Linked DNA regions of Homo sapiens: regions 2 and 3 are each linked to region 1. The links are contacts of gene promoters, found by promoter capture Hi-C in blood cells and fetal thymus (Javierre and others, 2016). All regions are on one chromosome and are shown on one strand. The core of a region is centred on a gene start or on the middle of the fragment in contact, and the rest is flanking DNA. Distances in the headings are between cores, read along the strand shown. Region 1 holds the start of S1PR5 (sphingosine-1-phosphate receptor 5). Region 2 holds the start of SPC24 (SPC24 component of NDC80 kinetochore complex). Region 3 holds the start of OLFM2 (olfactomedin 2).

Region 1 (3,739 bases), core at 500-2,999:
CAGCCGGAAGAGCCCCATTTTCGAGAGAAGTGAGATTGGCGCCTGGGAGGTGTGAAGCAGCCACCTCCCCACCCTGGGGCGCGGCTTCCCCTTTACAGAAGGAGGTCATTTATTGAGCACCTACTGGGTGCCAGCCACAGCCATGCTGGGAGATCTTCAGGGGTCATCCCAGTGGGCACCATTGGAGTTGGCTTGGTCCACAGGACTGGGGAACCTGGCACTGAAGGGTTAACACCGTCCCACCCTGCGGGTCCCATTGGCTGTGTCTTTGAGCAGAGCAGGCAGGAAAGGTTCTGCCCACCGAGGGAACAGCGGGGGCAGGAGGGCTGGGATCCCCAAGGGGCTACATGGGGGCCTGACCCGGCCTGAGTGCCCCCTGAGTTTCCTCCCACGAGGGTATCCCGGATCCACACTTATTCTCAGCCTCTGGCTCATCTCTCCTGGGGCGCCCTCACCCCACCCGCGGCCAGCAGGGCCTGAAGCATCAGGGGCAAAGGGCACGGTCCTGGAGAAGGTCGCAGCAGCGGGACCCAGCCTCCCTTCCTGAATCTGAGGGTGGAAGAGCTGGGACCGTCTGGAAGTTCCTGGGAAGTCGGGGTGGGGGCGTTTCGGGGCCAGCGGGACTGGTCGTTGGAGGAGCAGTGGCCTGGGAGAGGCGTGGGAGAGCATCACAGACAGCAACAAAGAGACACGCAGAGGCAAAGAGACACGCAGAGACAAAGAGACACGCAGGCGAGAGACTCTGAGATCCTCCTGAGAGAGATACAGAGGAAGTGAGGGAGACACTCATTCATTATCTGGGCATGGTTGCAAGCGACTGGAGTCCCAGCAGCTACGTTCAGCCGGCTGAGATGGGAGGATGGCTTGAGCCGCGGAGGTCGAGACTGCAGTGACTTATGATGTTGCCACTGCACTCCACTCTGGGCCACAGAGCAAGATCTTGTCTCAAAAAAAAAAAAAAAAAAGAAATTCTTACATTGCTGGGGTTTACTGTCTGCTAAGGACACAGCCCAGAAACACCATTAATGAGTAAATCACTTTGTCGTCAGCGATAAGGGTGGGAGAGAATCGGTCGGGGGAACACGGAATCCAGGGGGTGGGACAGGAGAGACCCTCCTTATCTGAGGAGCGGCAAGTTCCCATCACAATCCTGCCCGGGCCCGCCCCACCCCCACTCGCCCTGAGCCGGGGGCGGGAGCGGGAAATTGGGAGGGGCCTGTGCCCGGGAGCAGCGGGAACCTATCTGCTGGTGGGAGAGGACTCAGGCTAAGGTGGCCCCCACTGAAGACTCCTGCTAAGCAACCCACTGAAGACCCCTCCGAATCATCGACGGGGCGTCCTTGGGGTGCAGCCCAGGAAGCTCAGTTCACAGGTGGGTGGGCAATGGGAGGGCGCAGTGCCCGGACACCCAGGACAGAGGAGACCCCTCCGCTGGGGAGAAGAGGCTCAGGCTGCGACCGCCCTGCTGCAGAACCCTCCCTTTCCCGCCTCTCCGAGTCCTCCCACCGCGATGGAGCGTCCCTGGGAGGACAGCCCAGGCCCGGAGGGGGCAGCTGAGGGCTCGCCTGTGCCAGTCGCCGCCGGGGCGCGCTCCGGTGCCGCGGCGAGTGGCACAGGCTGGCAGCCATGGGCTGAGTGCCCGGGACCCAAGGGGAGGGGGCAACTGCTGGCGACCGCCGGCCCTTTGCGTCGCTGGCCCGCCCCCTCGCCTGCCAGCTCCAGCCCCGCCCCCGGAGCGGCGTCCGCTCACTCGGTTCAAGGCAGCGCGACTGCGGGTGGCGCACGACCAGGGCGCAGAGTGAGTGGACTGCACTGGACCTTTGGGGGCGCTGGGCTGGGCCTGACCCGGAGGGGGTCGCCCTGGCGGCCACTTTCCCGGTCTAAAAAGGCGCACCACTCCTTGCAGGGAGTTCTCCGAACTTTTCCTGGAGGCCTCTGGGGAGGGGGAAGCTGGGGGCTCCCCAGCTGGGTGCAGGACCTGGGATACGGGGTGAAGGTGGCTGGAATCCCCTGGCCACCCCCTCCTGGCCGGGCCACTGCAAGTTTCCATACTTCAGTCCTGCTGCCGGGCAAGCTGGGCGGATGGGGTTGGCCTCCCCCTCAGAGCATGTGTAACCCTGTCTCCCTGTATTTGGGCTCCCCACCTCCAGCATGGGTGAGCCAGCGACTTCCTGTCTATGTTTGCCTGCCTTGATTCTCTGTGTGTGACTGAAGCTCTCTGGGATGTCCGCATCCCTGCCTTGTGCAAAAGAGATCCATTCCCCTCCCCAGGCCTTGGCTTTCTCATCTGGACTTGCATGGGGACTATTTGTGCATGGATGTTTGTGTGGGAGCATGGAAACCTTTGCGCCTGCTTCGATACGAAGCATTTCTTTTGAGCTTCAGTTTTCTCATCTGTAAATTAGGACTAAAGGAAGTGGGGATTAATAAGGTCACAGAGGCAGGTGAGGAGTGTTATTACAGTTTAATGACATGTGTGCCCCTCTGTAAGAGTCTGTTTGCCTCTTGTGGATTCTCTCTCCTGTCCTCAGGCTCTGCCTTAGTAAAATGAGTGAATAGGATCAACTTTTTTTTTTTTTTTTTTTTTTGAGACGGAGTTTCTCTCTTGTCACCCAGGCTGGAGAGCAGGGGTGCGATCATGGCTCACTGCAGCCTCGGCCTCCCAGGCTCAAGTGATCCTCCCGCCTCAGTCTCTTGAGTAGCTGGGACTATAGGGGCATAACACCACACCTGGCTAATTTTTAAATTTTTTTGTAGAGATGAAGTCTTAGTATGTTGCCCAAGCTGGTGTCGAACTCCTGGGCTCAAGTGATACTCCCACCTCGGCCTCCCAAAGTGCTGGGATTACAGGCGAAAGCCACTGTGCCTGGCCAAGGAGCAACTTTCTCATGGGGTTTTGGGTGGATGAGGGGGTTTTGGCAGGAAAAAGCTTTGTATGCAGTGAGACAAGAGTGTGGAGTGTGGTGCACTGGGCCCCAGGCTAGTGTGAGTGGAGGTTGTGAAATTGTGGCCTGTGCCACTGGGTGGGAGACCCTGTATTCGTGTGACTGAATTTTGGTCGCTGTGTTTTTCTGCCTGCGTCACTCTGTTCCTGTATGATGTATTTTTTAGTTTCCCTGATAGTGTGTGACTGTGTGTTTTGCCCTTGTAGTGTGTCGCTGTATTTGTGTGTCTCTTTCTGTGTGTGTTGCGTTTGTGTGCGTTCTGTGTGTTTACTGTTACGTCTCTGGAACTCCCTGCTTGTGTGTTTGTGTGTGTGTGTTTGAGACAAAGTCTTGCTCTGTTGTCCTGGCTGGAGTACAGTGGCACAATCAATGCTCACTGACTGCAGCCTTGACCCCGCGGGCTCAAGTGATCCTCTCACCTCAGCTGGGACTCCACTGAGTAGCTTGGACTATAGGCATACACCAACACGTCCCGGCTAATTTTTGTAGAAACGGGGTTCTCCTATGTTGTCCAGGCTAATCTCGAACTCCTGGGCCTCAAACAATCCTCCCGCCTCAGCCTCCCAAAGTGCTGGAATTACAGGAGTGAGCCACCACACCCAGCCGTGTGTGTGTTTGGTGGGGAGGGGGGGTGTTTTGAGACAGAGTCTCGCTCTGCCACCTAGGTTGGAGTGCAGTGATGCGATCTCGGCTCACTGCAACCTCCGCCTCCTGGGTTCAAATGATTCTTCTGCCTCAGCCTCTGGAGTAGCTGGGACTACAGGCACGTGCCACCATGCCTGGCTAATTTTTTG
Region 2 (3,739 bases), core at 739-3,238, 640 kb before region 1:
CAGGTAAGCTGCAGCATCAGAAAGTGAACCTGAAGTCTTTTCCCCTCTTGATTTCACTCTGCCTAATTGTTATTCACTGCCTTTAGGCACAAAGAAGTGAGGTCTATGCCAACATTACACAGCTGGTTCAAGAAGCCATGCTCTCAGGCACCAAAGGGTGACACACACCTGTAGTCCCGGCTACTTGGAAGGTTGAAATGAAAGGATCACCTGAGCCACTGCACTTCAGCCTGGGGGACAGAACAAGACCCCATCTCAAAAAAAAAAAAAAAAAAGAAGGAAGAAAAGAAGGCCGGGCACAGTGGCTTACGCCTGTAATCCCAGCACTTTGGGAGGCCGAGGCAGGTGGATCACCTGAGGTCGGGAGTTCAAGACCAGCCTGACCAACATGGAGAAACCCCGTCTCTACTAAAAATACAAAATTAGCTGGGCATGGTGACGCATGCCTGTAATCCCAGCTACTCGGGAGGCTGAGGCAGGAGAATCACTTGAACCTGGGAGGTGGTGGTTGCAGTGAGCTGAGATCGCGCCATTGCACTCCAGCCTGGGCAACAACAGCGAAACTCTGTCTCAAGAAAAAAAAAAAAGAAAAGAAAAGAAAAGAAAAAAAAATCATAGGAAAGCAATGAGATGTTCTTTAGGTGGTAGCACACATAAAAATGTTGCCACGCCAGGCGCGGTGGCTCACGCCTATAATCCCAGCACTTTGGGAGCCTGAGGCAGGCAGATCACGAGGTCAGGAGTTCAAGACCAACCTGGCCAACATAATGAAACCCCGTTTCTACTAAAAATACAAAAAATCAGCTGGGTGCGGTGGCGGGCACCTGTAATCCCAGCTACTCGGGAGGCTGATGCAGGAGAATGCCTTGAACCCAGGAAGCAGGCTGGAATGCCTTGCACTCCAGCCTGGGCAACAGAGTGAGACTCTGTCTTAAAAAAAAAGAGAGAGAAAGAAAAAAAGATGCCATCTTAACATCTTGTTTCTTGCAGAAATACCAGTGTCTAGCATGGAACCAGCACCTTAGAGTCAGCACTGATCTTTTCTTTGTTTTGTTTTGTTTTGAGACAGGCTAGTCTCAAACTCCAGGGCTCAAGCGATCCTCCTGTCTTAGCCTTCCAAAGAGCTCAGACTTACAGGCGTGAGCCACTGCACCCAGCTACATGCTAGGATTCTATGTATGTTTCATTAAACAACTATATAGCACCTACTGAATAGGAGACACTATCACGCCAGGCTGGGCTCGGTGGCTCACGCCTGTAATCCCAGCACTTTGGGAGGCGGAGGCAGGAGGATTGCTGGAGGCCAGGAGGTCGAAGTTGCAATGAGCTATGATTGTGGCACTGCACTTCAGCCTGGGTGACAGAGCAATACCTTGTCTCTAAAAAAAAAGTAATAAGAAGAATTCTCACGCCAACGCTGACACAGGCACTAGTATGACCCTCATTTTACTAAGGAGGAAAGTACCGCACAGAGAGGTGAAGTCTGTCCAGGGTAACACAGCTAGTAAGTGGCAACGCTGGGATTCGAACCCAGTAAATCTGGCTGCAGACGCCATTTTGCTATGCAGCCTCTCATAGAATCTACTTATTCTCTATGCTTATTGTGTATCCCACGCACACACTGTAGGATGTAAGTTCCAGGAGAAGCTGCTCGCTGCTTTGCCGTTAGAACCCCACCCTGCACAGAGCAAGCGCTCGACCTATGGAGAAATAAACAGCCGCTTTCTCTCCCGCGCAGGCGCATCGGGAAGGATAACGGAGCCTCCCCCTTCCTGCGCCGATTGGTCATCACCGATGACTGACGGAGGAGTGGTCGCAGGCGCACCAGGCCAGACCAAAGGCGGCTTAGCCCAGTCTAAGATCCTGTTCCCCATGCCTATTGGCCATTGCTTATGACTGACGTATCAAAAAATCCAATGGAAAGCAACCTCTTCTGGAAGAGGGCGGGCCCCGCGGACAGTCAAATTTGCGCGGGTTGGAGCCTGGCGTAGTCATGGCCGCCTTCCGCGACATAGAGGAGGTGAGCCAGGGGCTGCTCAGCCTGCTGGGCGCCAACCGCGCGGAGGCGCAGCAGCGACGGCTGCTGGGGCGCCACGAGCAGGTGGTGGAGCGGCTGCTGGAAACGCAAGACGGTGCCGAGAAGCAGCTGCGAGGTGAGGGTCGGAGCGTGGTCGCGGGCCCACGGGGGAAGGGGCCCGGGTGCTGGGAGGGGGCGACCAGGCCCACCTCAAAACCCCTTCTCTCCTGGACTCTCCCATCTCCTGCCCTATGCCCCCTGGGACGGCCCCCTCTGAGCCTTAGTTTCACCATCTGAGAAATCGGCTTTATGACAGCAACCATCCCCCACCCCCCAGGGGTTTAGTGGTAAATATAGGAGTCTGGAGGGGTTGGCCCCTTCTGAGCTCTCCGTGAGCAGGAGCTGGGGGTCTCAGGGTTTGAACTGGGGCTCAGGAGTCAAAGCTCCGGGTTTGAATCCTAGCACCCATCCCCATGTCCGCTGTGAGACTTGAGGTGAGTTTCTTAAATTCTCTGTGCCTCAGCTTCCTTCCTTGTCAAATGGTTGTGACAATAGCCCATCCCTTCTTCCTGAAGGCATTCAGATGTTTTATGGAGCATCTGCTGCTGCCAGGCCCTGGGCTCACCGCAACCTCCACCTCCCGGGTTCAAGCTATTCTCCTGCCTCAGCCTCCTGAGTAGCTGGGATTACAGGCGCTTGCCACCGCACTCGGCTAATTTTTGTATTTTTGGTAGAGACGGGGGGTCACCACGTTGGCCAGGCTGGTCTCAAACTCCTGACCTCAGGTAATCTGCCTGCCTCAGCCTCCCAAAGTACTGGGACTGCAGACGTGAGCCACTGTGTCCGGCCCATCTTCACTATCTGTAACTGCACAGTTCAGTGGCCTTAAGCACATTCACACTGCTGTGCAACCATCAGCACCATCATCCATCTCCAGAACTTTCTCATCTTTCCAAACTGAAGCTCTGTCCCCATGAAACACTCACTCCCCATCCCCTTCTCAGACCCTGGCACCCACCAGGGTTCTACTTTCTGTCTCAAATTTGACTCCTCTAGGAACCTTACGAGGAATTGTACAATATCTACCCTTCCTAGTGGAATCATACAATATCTACCCTTTTGTGTCTGGCTTATTTCATGGAGCATAATGTCCTCCAGGTTCATCCATGTCATAGCCTGTATCAGAATTTCCTTTCATTTTGTGTACTTACTGTGAGACAGAGCCTCGCTCCATTACCCTGGCTTGAATGCAGTGGTGTGATCTTGGCTCACTGCAACCTCTGCCTCCCAGACTTAAGTGATCCTCCCACCTCAGCCTCCCAAGTAGCTGAGAACACACTTATGCGCCACCATGCCCAGCTAATGTTTGTATTTTTAGTAGAGATGGGGTTTCACCATGTTGGCTAGGCTGGTCTTAAACTCCCAGCCTCAAGTGATCGCCCACCTCGGCCTCCCAAAGTGCTGGGATGACAGGGGTGAGCCACTACGCCTGGCCAGAATTTCCGTCCATTTTAAAGCTGAGTCATATTTCATGATATAGAAGGATGGACCGCATTGTGTTTATTCATTCATCCATCCATGGGCACTTGGGTTGTATCCACCTTTTGGCTGTGTTGAATAACGCTGCTATGAACACGGGTGCCCAAATATCTCTTCAAGACTGTATTTTTTTTTTCCTTGAGACGGAGTCTTGCTCTGTCACCCAGGCTGGAGTGCAGTGGC
Region 3 (3,739 bases), core at 372-2,871, 580 kb after region 1:
GGAGGCAGAGGTTGCAGTGAGCCGAGATCACACCACTGCACTCCAGCCTGGGTGACAGAGCGAGACTTTGTCTCAAAAAAAAAAAAAAAAAAAAAAAAAAAGAGACACATAAAGGTAGCAGTCCCAAACCACCTTGCCCATCTCTCTCTCTTAAGTACGCCCACTCCCTTTTCTCAAGTGTGGACTTTTCCCTTAACAAAAAAATCTCCGAACTTTTCATGATTTTCTGATTCCTCCTTGAATTCATTCTTGCGATGGTGTTAAGAGCCTGGACACCAGCTGGGGTCGAGGCCCCACCAGCGTCTGGGGAGACCCCTCCTAGCCCAACAGTATCAGGGTCACAAAAATGCCAGGCTTCCTGGCCTCGCATATTTTATGCCCGATTTCTTTCCAATCTGACTTATTTGCCCGCCCCCCTCCTCCACCTCTGCCTACATATATCCGAATCCCTAGAGGGGCTGTGGGGAGGAAAGACGACTAGGGACACTTTTTTTTTTTTTTTTTTTTTGAGACAAGGTTTGCTCCTGTTGCCCAGGCTGGAGTGCAATGGCACGATCTCTGCTCACTGCAACCTCTGCCTCCCGGGTTCAAGCGATTCTCCTGTCTCAGCCTCCCGAGTAGCTGGGATTCCAGGCATGCACCACCACGCCCGGCTAATTTTTGTATGTTTTAGTAGAGGTGGGGTTTTGCCATGTTGGCCAGGCTGGTCTTGAACTCCTGACCTCAGATGATCCACCCTCCTCAGCCTCCCAAATTGCTGGAATTACAGGCGTGAGCCACCGCGCCCGGCCTAGGGAGACTTTTGGAGGAGTGAGAGGCAGAGAAAGGCTGGAAAGCCTCCCGAAAGTGAGGCTAGACAAGGACGCCCTTCATATGCAAATGGCTTCGCGTGGAGGCGGTGTTAATATTTTGATTCTCTCGGGGGATGTGGTCTTTCATCTTGGGCTATTGAAACAGGGAGCGAAGAGAAACTCTTCCAGGTGTGGCGGAGGCGGGGAGGCTTCCAGCGGGAGGACTGGTGGGGAAATGGGGCGCCCGGGGAGAGTGAAAACGAGACGCCCCTTTTTGAGGCCAAGCCCACCCACGTGGCCATTTCCATTGGCCTCTTGCCTGATTCTCGGTCTCCTGTCCCCCCAACCTCAATTTTTTCCTCTTATTCCCCGTCTCCATCTATGCCTCACCCCTCTTGTCCTGGCATTGACCCCTCCTCCAACTTCCAATTTCAGATTCTGCCTCAGTTTCCCTGTTGACTCTTGAGTTTTTAGGGAGGGGGCGTTCATCATTTCCCCTCTCTGCTACCAGGCCTTCCTCCTATTCCTCTCCCCCAACCATTCGTCCCCGTCCCACCTGCAACGTGGGAAATGCCCCCGGAGGGTGAAATTTACAAACACGTGACGGGCACCCCTCCCCCACCTCCGCGACCCGCTCCCGGAATGGCCTGGGGGTTGGGGGGCGCTGCCAAGTCCTGTCCTCAGGTCCCCTCGCCGGCGCTGGCTCCCCCACTTCCCCGCCCCCACCCCCCCACCCGACCCTGCTCGAGCTGCTCCCGAAGAGGAGCTGGGGGCGGGGCGGGGGGCGGAGCCCGCAACAAAGACTCGGAGCGAGCGAGGGGGCGGGGGTGGGGCGGAATCCCGGCCGCCGGCGAGGCGGGGGAGGCGGCGGCGCAGGGTCGCCCCGGCCGGGCGGGCGGGGTCGCGCCTGGTGGCGGTCCCCGCGCCGAGGCGCCGCTAGGGCGGGCGGGGGTCGGGACGCCGGGCTAGGGGCGCGTCATGTGGCCGCTCACGGTCCCGCCGCCGCTGCTGCTGCTGCTGTGCTCAGGCCTGGCCGGACAGGTAGGGGCCCGGCGGGCAGGTGCGGGCGCGGGTGGCTCCGGGAGAGGAGGGGGGCGCGGAGGGTTCCCGGAGAAACGGGGTTGGGAGGCTCCACAAGCCCCCCCAGCTGCAGGGCGGCGAGGGGCGGGGGTCGCAGCGGGGGAGGGGCCGGGACGTGCACTCTCTGGCTTGGGAGAGGACGAGGGGGGCTTCAAATCCAGCCTCAAGCTGGGCTGGTTTGGGGGGTGGCGTCTTTGGGGTTCTCAACCCCTCCATGGCCCCGAGCCCCCACCCCGCCATCTCGCTGGAGCTGAATGGGGTTGGGAGGGAAACTTCAGGGGGCATTGGAGGGGGGCGGTTGCTTACCCTTGACTTCCTCTTCGGGGCCGAGATGCCCAGTTTCTGAAGCCCTCCACTCCTCGCCTGCAGCCCCCAGTGTGGGGCAGGGGACGGGACTCACGTGAGAGTGACTGACGGGGACGCGTGTGAAATGCTGTGGGGGTGCAGGGTAAACGTGTGTGTCTTTGTGTCGTGGTTGGGTGTGACCGGGGGGAGTTTGTGTGTGTGGCGGTTGGGGGGCTTGTCCAACTAGTGCCCGAGTTGGGGTGTGATCAGTACGTGAGACAGAGTCTGTGTGTGACCGTGTCCTCATTACTGGCTCCAGATGACTGGGTGTTGTACAATACGTGTGTGGCCAGGTGTGTGGCCGTGTGAGAGCCTTGGAGTGAGCGTGTGCTATTCTGTACCTTTGGGTAAATCACTCTAAAAGGGTGTGTGTGTGTGCAAGCGCTGTGTGTGCAAACGTGTCCATCCATGCACGTGTGTGTGTGTATCTTGGTGCCTTGCTCACAACCGCACACGCCATTCATACCCTTACAGAAGCGGGTCTCCCTCCCCATGGCACCTTTCTCTTGGGCAGGCTCAGGGAGGCTTGCAAAATGTGGGGCGTCCACGCTCTCTTTTGCTATTGGAAAGCCCCTCTCCTCCTCCATCTTGGGAGTGAGAGCACCCCCAAGTTCTCAGATCTGTAGGAGTTCACAGGGAAGCTGGGATCAAAAATAATAAAATAGTCATTATGATAACAGTGATCATTCATTACGTGCTAATTTGAGAGGTGCTGTTTCAATCACACAGCACAGACTAAGGCATTTAACCCCCTCTGCCTCCTCCCTACTAGAGCATGGTATTGTTACCTCATTTTATGGATGGGGAAACTGAGGCGCAGAAAAGTTAAATCACTTGCTCAAGCTCGAGAGTGACAGAGGTGGGACTGAACCGAGGCAGTCCGGCTCCTGAGCCCACACGATTACCCTCTTGTTAAATAATCCGCTCCATGGGTGTGGACAGCGTCCGTGAAGACATTGCTAGGTGGGCTTTTAGGTAGATAGGCAGGGGAGAAACAATTTGGGCACCTTCCCCTTATCAAGAAAAGAATCAGACCCTTGTGCTCACCCCGAGGGGGGTGTTGGGAGGAATGGAGGTTAGACTCCAGATAGAAGGATTTCCAGGCCACGAGGAGAGATTGTGGGGTCCCCTCCCTCGCTCCTCCATTTCCCCACGCATCTCAGCACCCACGCGCTGGGTGGGATAGGGAGTGTGCCCAGCCCCAGGCATGAGGACACACACAATAGGTACTCAATGGATGTGTGAGCCTGAGAGAAGCCAAGAGACACACCTGGGAGACGAGAGACCAAAAGAGGCACACACTTGAGAAACCAGTGGAAAAAAAATGAGCCAGGAATCAAGTTGAATTATCCTTGACCTAGCAGAGGAGACAGAGAACCACCCCCTGTGGCTTCTCCTCCACTCCCTGCTAGGGGGGCACTAGATTTTCTGGCTTCTCACCAAGATTGGCTAGGATGCCAGAGTTTGCTGCCAGAATTGCAATTGGAGGGTGACTCCTACAGCCCCCAGGGCTGGGAGGGAGT

What was found. The method cuts DNA at HindIII sites, captures the fragments that hold promoters and counts their contacts. A CHiCAGO score of 5 or more calls a contact.
Region 2: a contact is called between the fragment with the promoter of SPC24 here and the fragment with the promoter of S1PR5 in region 1, in 1 of 17 cell types (neutrophils). The highest score is 7.0, in neutrophils.
Region 3: the fragment with the promoter of OLFM2 here is called in contact with the fragment with the promoter of S1PR5 in region 1 in 3 of 17 cell types (total B cells, fetal thymus and activated CD4 T cells); the score reaches 6.7 in total B cells.

Annotation. Positions count from the first base shown.
Region 1 is chr19:10,515,457-10,519,195 of GRCh38, reverse strand. It overlaps S1PR5 (sphingosine-1-phosphate receptor 5), which reads left to right and starts at 1,749. Exons shown (of 2, transcript NM_030760.5): 1 at 1,749-1,798. RefSeq lists enhancers at 1-404, 3,272-3,739. The HindIII fragment of the contact is 9,669 bases long and covers 1-2,931 here.
Region 2 is chr19:11,154,031-11,157,769 of GRCh38, reverse strand. It overlaps SPC24 (SPC24 component of NDC80 kinetochore complex), which reads left to right and starts at 1,988. Exons shown (of 5, transcript NM_182513.4): 1 at 1,988-2,153. The coding sequence starts at 1,994. RefSeq lists a silencer at 1,872-2,031. The HindIII fragment of the contact is 19,008 bases long and covers 1-3,739 here.
Region 3 is chr19:9,934,397-9,938,135 of GRCh38, reverse strand. OLFM2 (olfactomedin 2) reads left to right here and starts at 1,621. Exons shown (of 6, transcript NM_058164.4): 1 at 1,621-1,832. The coding sequence starts at 1,770. RefSeq lists enhancers at 602-1,104, 1,771-2,365. The HindIII fragment of the contact is 5,720 bases long and covers 1-3,739 here.